Regions from separate parts of the Homo sapiens genome. Here all the other regions are linked to region 4. The links are contacts of gene promoters, found by promoter capture Hi-C in human tissues and cell types (Jung and others, 2019). All regions are on one chromosome and are shown on one strand. Each heading gives the region's core, a stretch centred on a gene start or on the middle of the fragment in contact. The rest is flanking DNA. Distances are from core to core; before and after follow the strand shown.

The links. Contacts are between HindIII fragments. The study calls those that stand out against the background at their distance.
Region 1: a fragment that was not itself captured here is called in contact with the fragment with the promoter of DNAH10OS in region 4 in 4 of the 25 tissues and cell types used here (dorsolateral prefrontal cortex, lymphoblastoid cells, mesenchymal stem cells and 1 more).
Region 2: a contact is called between a fragment that was not itself captured here and the fragment with the promoter of DNAH10OS in region 4, in 3 of the 25 tissues and cell types used here (bladder, mesenchymal stem cells and pancreas).
Region 3: a fragment that was not itself captured here is called in contact with the fragment with the promoter of DNAH10OS in region 4 in 2 of the 25 tissues and cell types used here (hippocampus and mesenchymal stem cells).
Region 5: a contact is called between a fragment that was not itself captured here and the fragment with the promoter of DNAH10OS in region 4, in 6 of the 25 tissues and cell types used here (bladder, dorsolateral prefrontal cortex, heart right ventricle and 3 more).
Region 6: a fragment that was not itself captured here is called in contact with the fragment with the promoter of DNAH10OS in region 4 in 2 of the 25 tissues and cell types used here (mesendoderm cells and thymus).

The regions. Positions count from the first base shown.
Region 1 is chr12:123,751,729-123,754,428 of GRCh38, reverse strand. It overlaps ATP6V0A2 (ATPase H+ transporting V0 subunit a2), which reads right to left. Exons shown (of 20, transcript NM_012463.4): 17 at 2,027-2,146; 18 at 1-9. Among named protein-coding and RNA genes, the nearest start is that of DNAH10, 9.2 kb to the left of the region's middle. The HindIII fragment of the contact is 4,485 bases long and covers 1-2,700 here.
Region 2 is chr12:124,147,913-124,150,612 of GRCh38, reverse strand. It overlaps ZNF664-RFLNA (ZNF664-RFLNA readthrough), which reads right to left. Exons shown (of 5, transcript NM_001347902.2): 3 at 822-1,018. Among named protein-coding and RNA genes, the nearest start is that of RFLNA, 150 kb to the left of the region's middle. The HindIII fragment of the contact is 4,759 bases long and covers 1-2,700 here.
Region 3 is chr12:123,716,692-123,719,391 of GRCh38, reverse strand. ATP6V0A2 (ATPase H+ transporting V0 subunit a2) reads right to left here. Exons shown (of 20, transcript NM_012463.4): 2 at 691-769. All of the region lies in intron 1 of LOC105370042 (a long non-coding RNA gene), which reads left to right. Among named protein-coding and RNA genes, the nearest start is that of ATP6V0A2, 5.7 kb to the right of the region's middle. The HindIII fragment of the contact is 3,053 bases long and covers 1-2,700 here.
Region 4 is chr12:123,933,682-123,936,381 of GRCh38, reverse strand. It overlaps DNAH10OS (dynein axonemal heavy chain 10 opposite strand), which reads left to right and starts at 1,398. Exons shown (of 2, transcript NR_187476.1): 1 at 1,398-2,317. DNAH10 (dynein axonemal heavy chain 10) reads right to left here. Exons shown (of 79, transcript NM_001372106.1): 78 at 1,616-1,761; 79 at 668-1,047. The coding sequence ends at 901. It overlaps CCDC92 (coiled-coil domain containing 92), which reads left to right. Exons shown (of 5, transcript NM_025140.3): 5 at 1-756. The HindIII fragment of the contact is 2,982 bases long and covers 1-2,442 here.
Region 5 is chr12:123,783,041-123,785,740 of GRCh38, reverse strand. DNAH10 (dynein axonemal heavy chain 10) reads right to left here. Exons shown (of 79, transcript NM_001372106.1): 7 at 2,477-2,634; 8 at 1,564-1,794. The region is part of intron 4 of LOC105370044 (a long non-coding RNA gene); the gene reads left to right. Among named protein-coding and RNA genes, the nearest start is that of DNAH10, 22 kb to the right of the region's middle. The HindIII fragment of the contact is 4,104 bases long and covers 1-2,700 here.
Region 6 is chr12:124,119,483-124,122,182 of GRCh38, reverse strand. All of the region lies in intron 2 of ZNF664-RFLNA (ZNF664-RFLNA readthrough), which reads right to left. Among named protein-coding and RNA genes, the nearest start is that of ZNF664-RFLNA, 150 kb to the right of the region's middle. The HindIII fragment of the contact is 4,377 bases long and covers 1-2,700 here.

The DNA of each region.
Region 1 (2,700 bases), core at 48-2,547, 180 kb after region 4:
AAAATTAAACTGAGAGAGATCACACAACATATGTTAAGAGTCATGATGTTACATGTGTACTTCTACATGCCAAGTGGGTTCCACTTCAAGGATTACAATGAAAGAGCTGCCGGCTGGATGCTGGTAAGAACACGCTAGAGTGTGAGGAACAGAAACCCCAGACGCACTCTGTTCACCACTCTGCCACTACCCAGCTCCATGACCAGACTTTACCACCCCAAATCCCCACCTTCATCAGCCCCACTCCCACCGCACGCCTCAGACTCCCCTGTGTAAACCAAGAAGGTAGACCAGAGGAACTGCCGTGGCCACAGCTGCTATACTAATGGGATTCTGGGGCAGGTCTCAGTAATTATGAAACATCTACTGATAAAATAGGTATTCACCAACCCTAAGAGTAGACTGCGATTCACTAGATGTGAGCATTCTAAGTAGAGCCAACCAGGGAAAACTATGCAAGGGGCCCCTGACAGGGAAAGGGCTGCAAAGCACCAGGCAAGGTGACTCTCATGCGCTTTCCAGCTCTGCTTTTGTTTCTCTATGATCCTAGAACTTAATTATTAATTGTCCCGAATTAAAACACGAAATTACATAATAATTACAAAATGTTGATTATAAGACATTTTGTTTGGTCCTCACTAAATGGCCAAAATAAAGTTTCCATGAAAAGAAAGGAGGCCATGCTCTGCTGTCTTCCTGGGACTGCACCTCTGTTCTTTGCGGGGAGCCGCTACTTCCCTGTCCAGCCTCGTACCCCCAACCACACTGGCTCTGAATTATGTTCCCAAAAGTCTTATGCTGAAGCCCTAACCGCAATGTGACTGTATTTGAAGACAGAACCTTTGAGGAGGTAATCAAGGTTGAGTGAGGTCAGGAGGTGGGCCCTGACCCACTGTGACTACTGTCTTCTGGGAAGAGCAGGAGAAACAGGGGTGCAGGCACAGAGGAAAGGCCCTGTGCCGACACAGCAAGCTGAGCAGGGAGGCCTCAGGGGAAAGCAGCCTGCCAGCATCTCAGTCCGGGCCTGCCAGCCTCCGGGGCTGTGAGAAACAAGTCTCTTGTTGAAGCCACCCAGTCCGTGGTATTTTGTTATGGCAGCCCCAGCGGACTAAGATAGCAGTCACTGGTCCAGGGGACTGAGAACGCAGTCATTGGTAAAGGGGACTAAGGCAGCAGTCACTGGTAAAGGGGACTGACACAGTGGTCACTGGTAAGGGAGACTGAGCAGACACCGGTCCAGGGGACTCAGGCAGCAGTCACTGGTAAAGGGGACTGACACAGTGGTCACTGGTAAGGGAGACTGAGCAGACACCGGTCCAGGGGACTCAGGCAGCAGTCACTGGTGAAGGGGACTGAGGCAGCGGTCACTCGTAAAGGGGACTGAGGCAGCAGTCACTGGTCCAGGGATGGCAGGTATTTGGGGATTCTTTCCTAATAGTAACAAGCTGGTAAGGGCGCTTTGCTCTCTAATGGAAAGACTGAAAAAATAAGCCCAGGGCAACTTGTGACCATGGTTCTAGCATCATGGGGCCAACTGACTTCACAATATAAAGAAAACTTACAAAGAAAAAAAGCCAACCAAGGCCTCTTGGAATTGGAGACCCCAAAACTGTAATTATCCTGAAACCAACTCTACCTCTGTCCTGCCATGAGCCAGTAAAATCCCTTCGCAATCAGAAAAAACTGGGTCTCTATTTCTTGCAACTATGGAAAAGTTCTGACTGACCCAAGAAGCTTCTGAAAGCAATGTTCATGGCACCTTAAGTCACTCCAATCATAACTCTTAATATAACAGCAGAAATCCCACTGGCGAAGTGAAAGGACAAAATGACCCGAACTCATATAATGCCACCAACTCTATCATCAAACAGCATTTGGAAAGCGCTGGTTTCTCATAGTTGTGGAGGCTGGAAGTCCCATTTTCTTAACCATTTTTTAAGATGATTAAATATTATCTTAACATGATTATCTCTATGGAAGCTTGGTTACTTATCTAAGTTTATCAATAGCAGTTGAAAAGATTTACCTCTTCACACGCCATTTCTCTACATCCATCTTCCACCTGGTGATTTCCCTCTTCTATATCTTGGCTTCCCAGCAATGAAACTTCTTCCTCACTATCTTTCCTTATAAGTGTGTAGCCACTCTAACAACCAAAAGAGCACAGAGTCAGTGCCTGTAAAACCACAAGGTTGTGACAAAACCAAACTTGTATAGTTTCTTTGTTTCTCTTAATGATTCAGCTCTTTGAGAATAAAAAAGTTCTTTAGGCTAGGCACAGTGGCTCACACCTGTAATCACAGCACTTTGGGAAGCCGAGGCAGGTGAATCACCTGAGGTCAGGAGTTCAAGACCAGCCTGTGCAACATGGCAAAACCCCGTCTTTTACAAAAAATACAAAAATTAGCAGGGCGTGGTGGCGGGCGCCTGTAGTCCCCCTATTTGAGGGCTGAGGCAAGAGAATTGCTTGAACCCGGAGGGCAGAGGTTGCAGTAAGCTGAGATAGTGCCACTGCACTCCAGCCTGGGCAACAGACGAAGACTCCAGTCTCAAAAAAAAAAAAAAAGAAAGAAAGAAAGAAAAGAAAAGAAAAAAGAAAATCTTAAAGAAGAAATTAAGACGAATATGGAAAAAGGCATTTAAATTGTGCCCATCTGAACTGAAGGACTGAGTTAAACCCCTAATAAGCTTGTAGTTCAT
Region 2 (2,700 bases), core at 67-2,566, 210 kb before region 4:
TGTGTGCAGGCATTTTTAAAACCCAAAGGGAAATTTTAAAACACAATGGGAACTTTACAAAAGATGAAATATACAATACAAATAAGCATGAAAAACAGCCCCCCTCTGCTTTCAGGGGAAATTAATTACTCCCAGGTCCACAGCACATGGAGTTTTCTCCAGCCTGCCTGTCTTCAGCAGGGCTGTTCCCTCTGCCTGCCGCGCCCCTCCCCTCCCCATCTGGCCTCCTCTTGCAACGGCCCCCTTGTCTCCTGGGAAAAGACTCCCTCCAGCCATCATGCTTAGGCCGCATGAGCCTCCTCTTATTCCTGTTATCTCATTCGTCATGCTGTATTGTAATCACCTCTCTCATTAGCCATCAAGCTCTCTCAACTCAGGGTCCATGACTTCATCATCATTTTACTTCTAGTGCCTGGCATATAGTAGACAAATAACTAGGTCTCACGTGATAAATGGTCTACCAGGTACTTTTAGGGAACACAGAACCCATGTTTCCTGGGTCTGAAAAGAGAAGTCACGAAGACTGGGCTTCACTTCCCAGCCCTCTTGGAATGCAATCCCTCCGAGTGAGGGATTTCTCCTCGCATAGACACGATCGCCTTGCAGACTCTGCAAACCTGGCTCCTCCAGTTCTCTACAGCATGGAGGCTCCACAGTGAGGCTTATTCACCCGGACACACAATTCACATCTGTTCCTAACAACGGGCATCAAGTTGGCAGCTCAGCCCTGCCATGGGCCACAGTGATAACCCCTGCTGTGTTTCACCAAATAAACTCTGGAACTCTGGAACCCAGAGACCCACCGAGCTGGGACACCCTACCTGAGCCGCAGACACCTCTCCGCAAGCAGACAACTCGTCCAAGGACTTTCCCACATGGCAGCAAGCCTGTCAGCTTCTGCTCGTCAGCATGTGTCTTGCTCTCCAGCCCTAAGTGCTCTTCAAGGACAAAAAAACCTCTGCAAACACAATCACCTCGTGCAACACTGTGGTCCGTGAAGACTCTCACCAAGTGCGGCCTGGAAAGGAGAAAAGGTGATGAGGACAAGGTGAGCTCAGGCAGCTGCTTTGTCAGTGACTTTTGAGCACCTCATAAGTATCAGTCAGCAGTGGCCACAGTGATGCTGAGTAACAAACGTATGGGTGGACACACAGCCACTGCTGAGACCGGGGGTCCCAAAGCCAAGTGCTGGACCTGTGGCTTGTTGCTTCAACCCTGGGAGGCCCACGGAGTTCTGGATGTTTGGGGGGTGCACTCATAAGCAGAAAATCCAAGCCTCTAGTCTGGCTCCCCTGGTTCTGGCTGTTACCCCATTACAGCTTCCGGACTTCAGCAGAGAAGAGCGAATTCTTTCCTCTCCCCTTACACTCTCTGGCTCAGGAAGCAGTGGAAAGATGTAGGGGTCCCAGAACCTCCCTCAACTGGTCCAGTATTCCTGCGACTGCCGACCAGACATAAACTCACCAAGTTTTTTACAAGCTTGTCCCTTCCTGGTGAGAAGCTCCCCAGATATAACAACAGAAACAGACCTATCAGGTTCTGCCAGGAAGAAAGAGCCATGCGTAAGTCAGACCTTGTGGCTCCTTCAAACACTCGGAGGCAACATTAATCTGGATTCTTGGATGAAAGGTCTAGCTTGCCTTGCCAGTTCATTTGTAAACTGGACAGCCAGAAAGCACCTCCGAGCGTGGAGACCCACTGCTCCACTGAAGCTTTTAGGGCGGCAAGGCCTTCTTCAGTAGTCTTTCTGTCTTTCTTTCAGCTGCAAATTCAGCAGCAGCATTTAATAAGAAAAACAGAAGCCACAGGAAAAAGGGAGCTCCGGAAACAACATACGGTGCAAAACCCTTTAAGTTTCAGCTGCTCCCAGTTAGAGGACACTCAACTGCTCCAGGCAAGAGCCCGACAAGGGGCCAGTTGACCAGGGAATTAATGAGCAACAGGAACACGACTCCCTTGGGAATGTTCTCTGCAAACCAGGGACATAGACGGCTCCAGGGACCAGCTGCCCCTCTCTCCCCTACATTGGCCTCTTTTTCTTCCTGTCCTTATTTCCTCCTGCCCACTCCCCTCCTCTTCTCACTGTTGCTTCCTCCTGTCCCATTATTTCCTTCTTCTCCTTTGTCAGTTCTTTAGTCCTCTTAGGGGACATCCCTCAAGCATTGCAGACTGTGTGCCATTTAAGGCCAAATACATCCCTGTCTAAGACAAAGAGAAGAATAATTAGTTACAACGGGCTGGGCATGATGGCTCATGCCTGTAATCCCAGCACTTTCGGAGGCCAAGGTGGGTGGATCACCTGAGGTCAGAAGTTCGAGACCAGCCTGGCCAACATGGTAAAACTCCGTCTCTAGTAAAAATTTAAAAAATTAGCCAGGCATGGTGGTGGGTGCCTATAATAATCCCAGCTACTCGAGAGGCTGAGGCACAAGAATCGCTTGAACCTGGGAGGCGGGGGTTGCAGTGAGCTGAGATCGTGCCATTGCACCGCAGCCTGAGCAACAAGAGCCAAACTCCATCTCAAAACAAAACAAAACAAACAAAAAAAGTAATTATAACAGCAGCCACATTTGCTGAGTGTTTATTACGTGCTAGGCACTGTTCTAAGCGTTTTGCAGTCACTAGGTCACTCCTCCAAAATGGCCTACAGATGCAAACTTCCCCTAATGCTATCCCCATTTAACACATGAGGCAGAGGGA
Region 3 (2,700 bases), core at 156-2,655, 220 kb after region 4:
AACAAGCTTTGTCCTTCAGTTGACTGTCTGTCATTTTCCCTCCACTTCAGTGAGAATGTCAAGGCTTGATTTGATAATGACTAGTACCAGACTAAGATGGTAAAGACTTTAGAGATAAAAGAAGTGGCCCTGGGCTGCTTAGTTGAAATGGTTAACAATCAGCACTGATCTAACACACTGGCAAAGGAAGCCCTGAGAAAAAGGAAATTATTGTCAATCACTCTATCTTCCATTTCCCGCCTCCCTTGTTCCTTGAAAAAATTTTAAATTAAGTAACTTATTAACAAGTACAATGTTTTTAAGTTATAATAAACTACAAGGGATCGGTTAAATAAGCCACAGCACATTAATATTAATACAATCAAATAGTATGCTGCCATCAAAAACGATGATGGGTAAATATCTATGTCTACTGACACGAAAAGATGTTATAGTAAGCACTGTTAAGTAAAAAACAAGGGTAACAACAAAATAACCAGGCCATTATGTTTGTAAATTTTTACTTTTATAGATGAATAAAAAAATACAGAAAAATAATACATGCCTACATAACTGTGATTACTTCTGAATGAGAATACAATTTCTTTTTTTCCTTTCTGCTTGTCTATATTTTCCAATATTTTTAAACCGAACAAGGTTTGCCTATATAAAGGTAATTATTTAAGTTGTTAAATCAGAAAATAAACTTACCCAATATTCGCTCTAGCTCTTCACACCTCTTCACCTCACCAACAAATTTTCTTTGGAAAGAACTTACGTTCTGGTTGAGCTGAGAAAAGGATGAAAAATATGGTTTAAATTTCTAAAATTTAAAAATACTTTTATGTAAAAAATAAAACATCACCAAAGTTTGGGGGATGTACACTCTTGTATACTATTGAATGAAACTATAAACTGACACAACTTTTCTTGAGAGCAATTTGTCAACTGTTACCAAAAAAGCCTGAAAATCCAGCCGGGCCAACACGGTGAAACCCCAACCCTGCTAAAAATACAAAAATTAGGCCGGGGCGGTAGCTCACGCCTGTAATCCCAGCACTTTGGGAGGATGAGGCGGGCAGATCACTTGAGGTCGGGAGTTCAAGACCAGCCTGGCCAACATGGTGAAATCCCACCTCTACGAAAACACAAAAATTAGCCAAGCATGATGGCAAGTACCTGTAATCCCAGCTACTCGGGAGGCTGAGGTGGAAAAATTGCTTGAACCCAGGAGGCGGAGGTTGCAGTGAGCCAAGATCGTGCCATTTGCACTCCAACCTGGGCAACAGGGCAAGACACTATCTCAAAAAAAAAAAAAAAATTAGCCAGGCATGGTGGCGCACCTAAGTAATTCCAGCTACTTGGAAGGCTGAGGCACGAGAATTGCTTGAGCCCGAGAGGCAGAGGTTGGATGGAGCTGAGATCACACCACTGCAATCCAGCCCAGGTGACACAGTGAGACCCTGGGTCAAAAAAAGAAAAAATCCTGAAAATGATTATTTGCCCAGCAATACCCCATGAAGAAAATTTAACCTAAGGAAAAAGCTATGGAAACAGATGAAAATCTATGACAACATCAATCTCAGGGAAAAAGAAAAAATGATAACCCAAAAATCCAACAATAGAAAACTAGTTCAAGAAATTACAGTAGCGTAGTTAAAGAAATTATAGCCAGGCACAGCAGCTCGTGTTGATAATCCCAGCAATTTGGGAGGCTGAGGTGGGAGGACTACCTGAGGCCAGTAGTTTGAGGCCAGCCTGGGCAACATGGTAAGACACCATCTCTCCAAAAAATAAAAAATTAGCCAGGCCTGGTGGTGCACGCCTGTGGTCCCAGTTGCTCAGAAGGCTGTGGCAGGAGGATTGCTTGAGCCCAGGAGATCGAGATTGCAGTGAGCAGTGATCACACCACTGCACTCTAGCCTGGGTGACAAAGCAAGAGCCTGTCTCAAAAAAAAAAAAAAAAGAAAGAAAGAAAAGAAAAGAAATTACAGTCTATATCCACACAATGGAATGCTACTTAGCAATAAAAAGGAATGAACTACTGACCCATGCAACAACAGGGATGACTTTCTCTTTTTTTTTTTTTTTTTTTTTTGAGACAGAGTTTCGCTCTGTTGCCCAGGCTGGAACGTACTGGCAGTATCTTGGCTCACTGCAACCTTCGCCTTCCAGGTTCAAGCGATTCTCCTGCCTCAGCCTCCCGAGTAGCTGGGATTACAGCCAAGTGCCACCACCCCCGGCTAATTTTTGTATTTTTAGTAGAGATGGGGTTTCACCATGTTGGCCAGGCTGGTCTCAAACTCCTGACCTCAGATGATTCGCCCACCTCGGCCTCCCAAAATGCTAGGATTACAGGCGTGAGCCACCACGCCCACCCTGGATGACTTTCATACTAAGTGAAAGCAGCCAGACACAAGAAGCCACATACTGTGCGATTCCACTTACATGGAATGTCCAGACAACCCTAGAGGCAGCAAGCAGATTAGTGGGTGCTGGGGGGGTGGGGGTAGGAATAAGGATTAACTGTAAATGAGCATTAAGAATCTTCTGGGGTGATGGAATGTTCTAAAACAATTGTGGCAATGGATGCATGACTCTATAAACTCTTTTTTTTTTTTTTTGAGACAGGATCTCACTGTCGCCTAGGCTGAAGTCCAGTGGCGCAATCTCAGCTCACTGCAACCTCTGCCTCCCAGGTTCAAGCGATCCTCCTGCCTC
Region 4 (2,700 bases), core at 149-2,648:
AACAAACACCTGAAGGAGGGCTAGGAGACTGCAGGAGGGAGAGCAATCACAGGTCCCAGAAGCGACTCCGGCCTCCTCCCGGCCCAGAGCTAGTCCTTAGAATGTGCTGCGCTCCTGAGCTTCTGTGGGAAGCTGCTTTTGCCTCTGATGGCCCCTGCCCACTGTGCTGCCCGTGCTAGCCCCTCTCCTCCCTCATGGAGTGAAGCCACCCCTCACCTCCAGGTGGCCAGCCAGGGCTCCAGGCCAGCCTCATGGTGCACAGAGGGAAGGGGTGCCCAGTGACCACTGGTCCTGGAGGTTCTGTGTCCTTACCTGACCCCACACAGACCCAGGCAGGCTGGGGGTAGAAGCTCATGCAGGAACTAAACACTAAGCTCAACAACTTCACAGTCGCCGTAGCAGGTCAGAGCCAAAGAAGCTAGGGCCAGAGAGTTCTGGAAGGGGGAGAAGTGGCTCCAGGTGACTGGTCACTTCTGCTCTGTGCCCGACATCATCAGCCCTTCTTGCCAAAAAGGAGCATCTGCTGAAACAGACCTGGATCATCGAAAACACACCTTTGGAAATTACATTAGGATTCTCACTTGTGCCAATGCTATGTATGCCAGGCACTTTTGCCTAATCAAGTGTTTTCTCTGAGAAGGAAAAGAAAACTCCACACATCTTAAAATACTCTCCAATATTTACTTTTTGATTATATAAATTCCTTTTAAAAAGTAGTATTAAAAACAAAACCATTCAGGTTAATTTGTATGGAAAGAGATTTAAGTGGCTGATTTCAAATGAAAAATCAGTGTCAGTCCCCCTCCTGCCTCTTGAGAGGCCCCAAGAAATGACAGCAGACCCGATCACTCTGACAACCCCAGGCTCCGAATTCATTAAGCAGTTTTCTTCACCCAAAGGTTAATCAGAATTCAGGGTGAGGCATACTCCTTGCAGCACCCAGTGAGAAATGTGCCTCGTGGTAAAGAGATCAGCTTCAAAAACCAAGCCGACTCCCATGGCGTTCCTTCTCATGGAGGTGGTGTAGACGGGGGTCCGGAAAGTATTCTGCAAGGGAAAGGCAGGTGAGATGCCCCCACGGAGAGAGGGTGCAGAGGGATAAAGGCAGAGGTGCAGTGTAAGTCTTGACAGGCAGGGGCCCCTGTGCAAGACTGCACCTGAGAACACGCACAAGGCTGGGGCTGCTCAGGGCCACCCTCCGCCAGCTTCACGGGGACCTGGCTTCACACTGACACCCTGGTTAAAAGTGGGTCCTGGCCCAGGCAGAGCAGAAGACATCTGCTGTCCACACCAGCGGGAACCACTTTATGACTCAGGCAATGTCTGCAGCATTTTGCAAGAAGGGAGGGAGTCTCCCCTTGGTTAGTCTAGACCACAGGATCACAGCTTGAGCCTGACACCTCTGGAAGGACCGGCATCCACACACACATACAGCCGCGCCTTTTCCAGGAAGCAGCTATCCGTAGCTTTTATCACGGCTCCAAGACTCTCCCCAGCCCATAAAGCTTAGGCACCCCTGTTTTAAAAAGTAGGACTGTTGGAAACCACCTCAGCCATAACTACAGTCAGAAGAGGAAGGGCCCTGGTGTCAGAGAGGAGGGGCTGGGACCTTCACCTGCAGCTTGAGGCGATGGGCTTCAATGGGGATGATCTTCAGGATCGGCAGGTCCACAACCAGCACCTTGGGTTTGCTCTTGATAAGACATCCTTTTTCTATATCCCAGTCAGCACCTTCCAGGTACAGTCCTGAGACAAAGCATCCTAGGGACACAAGGCAGAGACTGGATACAACTGGAGCATGCACAGCCTGCCACGGAGTGGCTCTATCAGGCGCACACACAGCGACACACAGGCCACTGGCTGGCCTCCTCCCCAGCGCATTGGGGACAGCCCAGGCCCTTCTCCAGCATTTCTGTCCTGCCCACCTTCCCTCTGTGGAGGAGCAGCCCAGACAGGAGACCCTGTGGCCCTGCCCCATGGCCCAGAGAAATGGGTGTGGGGCGGTGGCCTCTCCCCCAGGAATCCTCATTCCTGGGGCATCAAGGCCCACGGACTTAGACCACCCTGGGCCCCCAGGCTAGAAAGATGCATGGTCCCAGAGTCAGAATGGGCACCATGGCAACCCCAGCTACCCTGTGAGCCGAAGTGGCTGGGGAGCAGGAAGTCGAAGCCTCACAGAGAAAGTGGTCTCCGGGGAGGAGGACCCAGCAGATGTGCAAAGAGAGGAACACACTCCTGTGGCCCCAGAGAGAGTGGTGGCCCGGACACCTGCCACCTCCCCTGCCACTGAGACCTGGAGAGTCCCTGCATCTTTACCGTAAGTCCCCAGTCCTTAAGCCATCTCAAAAGAGCTTTTGTTCCTTGCAGTTAAAAGAACTCTAAGACAACATGGACCCGGGGAAACAGCAGTTTCCAGCTCTCATTTGCACAGTCAGTAACCAATGTCTAAGGGACCTGAAGTTCTGGCATAATCAAAGAGTTCCAACCAAGTTAGTCCATGCTGCTCTGTGGCTCCCATGCCCCTGGCCCCGTCAGGGGTTACAAGAAAGCCACCTGATGGTTTTTGCAAGAGCTAATTCTGACCTAGGAGCCCACTTGCCATGAGCTAGCAGAGTGAACATGGTTCAGGTCTCCCCTGCCATAGACCCCAGGTCTCAACGGAGAAAGTGGAAGAGAAACTTCCGTATCCACCCTCAGAGG
Region 5 (2,700 bases), core at 51-2,550, 150 kb after region 4:
CAAGAGAGGAGAGAGCCACGCAAGAGCCCTTAGCCTTGGGGTCCAAATAGTTTCATAAAACAGTAAGCATGCAAGAAGTTTCACTCTTTTTTTTTTTTTTTTTTCCTTGAGACCAAGTCTGGTGCCCAGGCTGGAGTGCAATGGCACAAACATGGCTTACTGCAGCCTCGACTCCCCTGCGGACTCAAGTGATCCTCCCACCTCAGCCTCCCAAGTAAGCTGAGAATACAGGCATGCACCACTACACCGGCTAATTTTTTATTTTTATTTTTGTAGAGATGAGGTCGCACTATGTTGCCCAGGTGAGCAGACTTTTTTTAATCTCTTATAATAATAACTCAAATAAATAACGGGCAAAAGATTAAAACAGACATTTCACCAACAATATGAAATTGACAATAAGCACATTAAGTACATAAAAAGTTGTTCAGTCTCACTAGTTGTTAAGGAAATGCAAATTAAACCACAATGGCTATTATCAGAAAGACGATAACAAGTGGTGGTGAAGATACGGAAAAACCAGAACCTTCGTGTATTGCTCTTCAGAATGTAAAATGGGACAACCACTTTGGAAAACAGTCTAGAAATTCCTCAAGAGGTTAAACAGTTACCATATATGACCCAGCTATTCCACTCCTATGCATAATACATGAATAATTAAAAACACACATCCACACAAATCCTTGTACAAGAATGTTCGTAGCAGCATTCTTCATAATAGCCAAAATGCAGAAACAACTCAAATGCCCACCGACTGATGAATAGAGAAACCAAATGTAGTCTATCCATGCTATGGAATATGATTCTGCCACAGAAAGGAGTGAAACACTAACACGCTCCACGCTACAACACAGGTGAACCTTGAAAACCTGGTGCTGAGTGAAAGAGACTGCACACAGGATCAGTCCTGCATGACTCCCCTTATATGAAGTCCCTAGAGTAGTCAGATTTACAAAGACAGAAAGCAGAACAGAAGTTACCAGGGACTTAGGGTAAGGAAGAAGGGGGAGTTAGTGTTTAATGGACACAGAATTCCAGTTTGGGAAGATGAAACTGTTTTGGAAATAGTGTAATGGACACACAGCATTGTGTATGTATTTAGTGCCACTGAACTGTATGCTTAATAGTGGTTAAAATGATAATATCATGTCATGTCTATTTTATCACAATTTTTTAAATTCTGAGGTTTTTTTTGAGACAGGGTCTCGCTATGTTGCCCAGGCTGGAGTGTAGTGGCGCAATCTTGGCTCACTGCAACCTCCATCTCCCAGGCTCAAGCAATCCTTCCACCTCAGCCTCCTGAGTAGCTGGAACTACAGGTGCACACCACCATACCCAGCTAATTTTTGTATTTTTTGGAGAGACAGGGTTTTACCATGTTGGCCAGGCTGGTTTCCAACTCCTGAGCTCAAGCGATCTGCCCACCTCAGCCTCCCAAAGTGCTGGGATTACAGGCATGAGCCACTGCTCCTGGCCAAATGCTGAACATTTTTAAAAGGGAAATTAAATCATATGAAATCTCTTTGACAGAGCTGACTGCAAAGTGCAGCACACCCAGCATACCTTGAAATAACGCTCCACGGTGGAGAGAAAGCGCACATTGTCTGAGGCCTCCGTGTGGAACTTGAATAACTCGGTGAACACTGGCTGCAGATTAGCCACAAGCATGGAGTCGGATTCCTTGATCACATCCAAGACTTTTCTGACTATTGGAAGCTTTGTTTGTTCATGCAGCGCACTTAAGGTTGCATTTCTTTCCCTCCAGAATTCAATTTCAGCCAGAGGGCCTTTACCCTGAGAGGTGAAATGAACACACAAAGAACTCTCATTATTAGGGTGGAGCAGACACTTATGGTGGTTTCTCCAGCATCCGTTCTTTCTGTCCAACTGCTCCAATCCTTCAGGGTCTTCAGGGGTGGGCTCTTGACCCTGGGTGGTCCAATCATAGTGAATCTCAGGGCTCCAGCTGAGAATGCTAGAAACACACTCTGCCTTTCTCCGGACAACTGAGGTGTACAGAATGTGAGGCCAGAAACTGCTGCAAGGAAGCCAGCCTGAGGAATGAAGCTCTCCAGCCCCTAGAAAGGGGTCTAGAACTGAGAGATTCAGAAATATAGCCAGAGCCCTGATCAGACTGGACCTGAAGCCAACCCTGCCTCTGGACTTTTCCATTATGTGAGCCAAGGAATTTGCTTTCTTAGTTGATCGACTTGAGTTGGGTTTCCTGTTTTTGGCAGCCCAAGCTTCCTGACTGATCCAAAGTGTTATCTTTATCAATCCAGGCAGTAACCTGGTAGCACATTAACATCAGAAAGCCCAGAAATGATATTTTGGGTGTGTTTATTTTGATGGCTTAAGGAAGTCATAAAACAGTAAGAAAAGATGCCAGATGATGCAGACCCCAGACTCCGGGCTCTTTCCCAGCATGGTAAGCATGACCTGGATCGGGGCTCTCTGAAAGCCCTGCACAAACTACCTGAGGTGTCTTCTTCAGTTGGGCCTCAACCGCTGTGGATATCTGATTCAGCCAGTTTATCACACACTGCTCCAAGATGTCAACGGTTTCCGGGTCAGCTGCCAGGTCAGACACCTCTCCCTCCACACTGATGATTGGCATTTCTAACTTGATCTCACCTAGGAAAATAAAAGTGATCAGTCAGTCATTCGTTCAGGAAAAATGATTACAAAGAGAAACATTCA
Region 6 (2,700 bases), core at 19-2,518, 190 kb before region 4:
TGTCAGTAATCCCAGAACTTTGGGAGGCCAAGGCAGGCAGATCACTTGAGGTTAGGAGTTCAAGACCAGCCTGGCCAACATGGGGAAACCCTGTCTCTACTAAAAACACAAAAAATTAGCCAGGCATGGTGGCACACACCTGTAAACCCAGCTACTCGGGAGGCTGAGGCAGGAGAATCACTTGAACCCGGGAAGCGGAGGTTGCAATGAGCCGAGATCATGCCACTGCACTCCAGTCTAGGCGACAGAGCGAGACTCTGTCTCAAAAACAAATAAATAAATAAAATAAAGTAAAATAAAATAATTACAAAATAAAGAAGTCTTTTTAAAGAAGAATGATGCCACCTGAGGAACAAGGGAACTGGGGTATTTATACACCAACTGCTTAGGGCCATTGGTTGAGGGTTTCTTGGGGGCAGTGGAACCCCCAGCACTTCCAGCTGCTGGCTGGGAAAAGTGGTCTTCCAGGGTGCAGGTGTTTGGGAGTTGAGTTGAGCATGATGGCCATTGGAGAGATATGGGTTGGACCCTGGCAGTGTCCACTACAGACTCTCACTCTGAGAAGCAGCCTAGGAACATTCTAGAGACCTGAAGATTCCTTCCTTGCTGTAGAGCCTTCCCAAATCCATTTCAATATAACCCCAATGCACTCAACCATCCAACAATGACCCCTTCCGGAATGTGTACATCAGGAGGCAGAGAATGGAGTCTTCTCTGTTTTCAAAATAAAATTCAGTATAATATTCAGTCGATGGCCAGGCACGGTGGCTCACACCTGTAATCCCAGCACTTTGGGAGGCCGATGCAGGCGGATCACTTGAGGTCAGGAGTTCAAGATCAGCCTGGCCAGCACGGTGAAGCCCCGTCTCTACTAAAAATACAAAAATTAACTGGGCGTGGTGGCACATGTCTGTAATCCCAGCTACTCAGGAGGCTGAGGCAGGAGAATTTCTTGAACCTGGGAGGCGGAGGTTGCGGTGAGCTGAGATCACGCCACAGCACTACAGCCTGGGTGTCAGAGTGAAATTCCATCCCCCACCTCCCCCGAGAAAAATCCTGTAGATAATGATTGGCGAGTTAAAAACAAAAAGCAAAAAGTACCTCCATGCATTAGTAATTCCATATAAGCATATGAGTTTGACCTAAATTCAACTGTAATGATCTGTGACAAGAAATTGGTGTTTCCTTCCACTATAAATCAAAGAAACAGCCCTCATTTCATTCTCGCATCCACAGACAGTAACACACTGTGCTATCGGCTTACCTCACACAGCATCAGGGGCCCCTGGCTCCCAAACGTACAGTCCTTTCTTAGGAAAAGTCACCTCTCTTGTGGATCCGATGGTACATTTATTTTGGAAAAGAGAGGGAGTTCATTATCCATACTCCCAACTTCTGTTTTAAATTATTGCTCCAGCCTTACTGGCAAACCTGTCAGGTATAAAGGGACTCACAGCTAAGTGTGTAAATAATTTTTTAAATTCCACTGGTAGTGATTTGGAAATAAGAGGGGTTTTATTTTCCCTTTTCTTTTTTCTTACTTTTTTTTTTTTCCTTTCTGCTAGGATTACTAAGGAATTTAACGTTGTTTTAATTTGCAACACAAGTCGAGTCTATGAAAACCCCTCATGCCCAGTATATGAAACCTGCACTTTACAGCATCAGAAAGCTTTAGGGTATTAAGTAATTGATTTAATTAATCAAGCAAGTAAGTTTTTTCCTCCTCTAGCCCCACTCTGAATGTGGAAAGGTTCTTATAAATATCCAAGAATGTGGAGACATGGGGTAGATCCATGAACCTAGAAAACCAAGGTGACTCATACAGAGGCACTAATGGGCAAACACCTGGGGTGCCCAGGTTTAGGCAAATTTGAGAGTTCTCGATATTTTTATTTTATCATAATCGGGTTCACTGATCCAGCAGACATTGGGCATGTTGATTTTCTTCCTAAACAGCCCCCAGTTTCCCTCCAGGGACCCACACCCAAGAGCTCTCAGAGAAGGGGTTCAGATGGGGCCCCACCCAGGCAGCAGGAACCCAGGGACCCACAGCCATGTGATTGGCTCAAGGGTTGACACATGACTCCACAGGAGCCAATGAGAATGCTGGAACCCAGGCGCCAGTTTTCTTTCTTTTCTTTTTCTTTTTTTAAACGGAGTCTCGCTCTGTCGCCCAGTGTGGAGTGTCAATAGCGCGATCTCAGCTCACTGCAACCTCTGCCTCCCAGGTTCAAGCGATTCTGCTGCCTCAGCCTCCTGAGTAGCTGGGACTACAGGCACATGCCTCCATGCCCTGCTAATTTTTTGTATTTTTAGTAGAGACGGGGTTTCACCATGTTAGCCAGGATGATCTCGATCTCCTGACCTCAGGTGATCCACCCGCCTCGGCCTCCCAAAATGCCGGGATTACAGGCGTGAGCCACCGCGCCCGGCCCGGTTTTCTCTTTTCTTCCAAGAGCGGGCACTGGTGCTGCCATCTTGTGAGCGCCTGGTGAGACTGGTGCTGCCGGTGGCCACAGGAGAAGCCCAAGAACAGACTCAACATGGAGAAGATGGGGACAAGAATTCGAGAGAGGCTTCAAACCACATCCTGATGACACTGTTGAGGCCCCTACATCCAGCTGCACCCAAAGCCTGCAACTTTGGCCAAATAAGGCAATAAATTATGTTAGAGCTTAACCTCGTTGGATATTCTGTCAC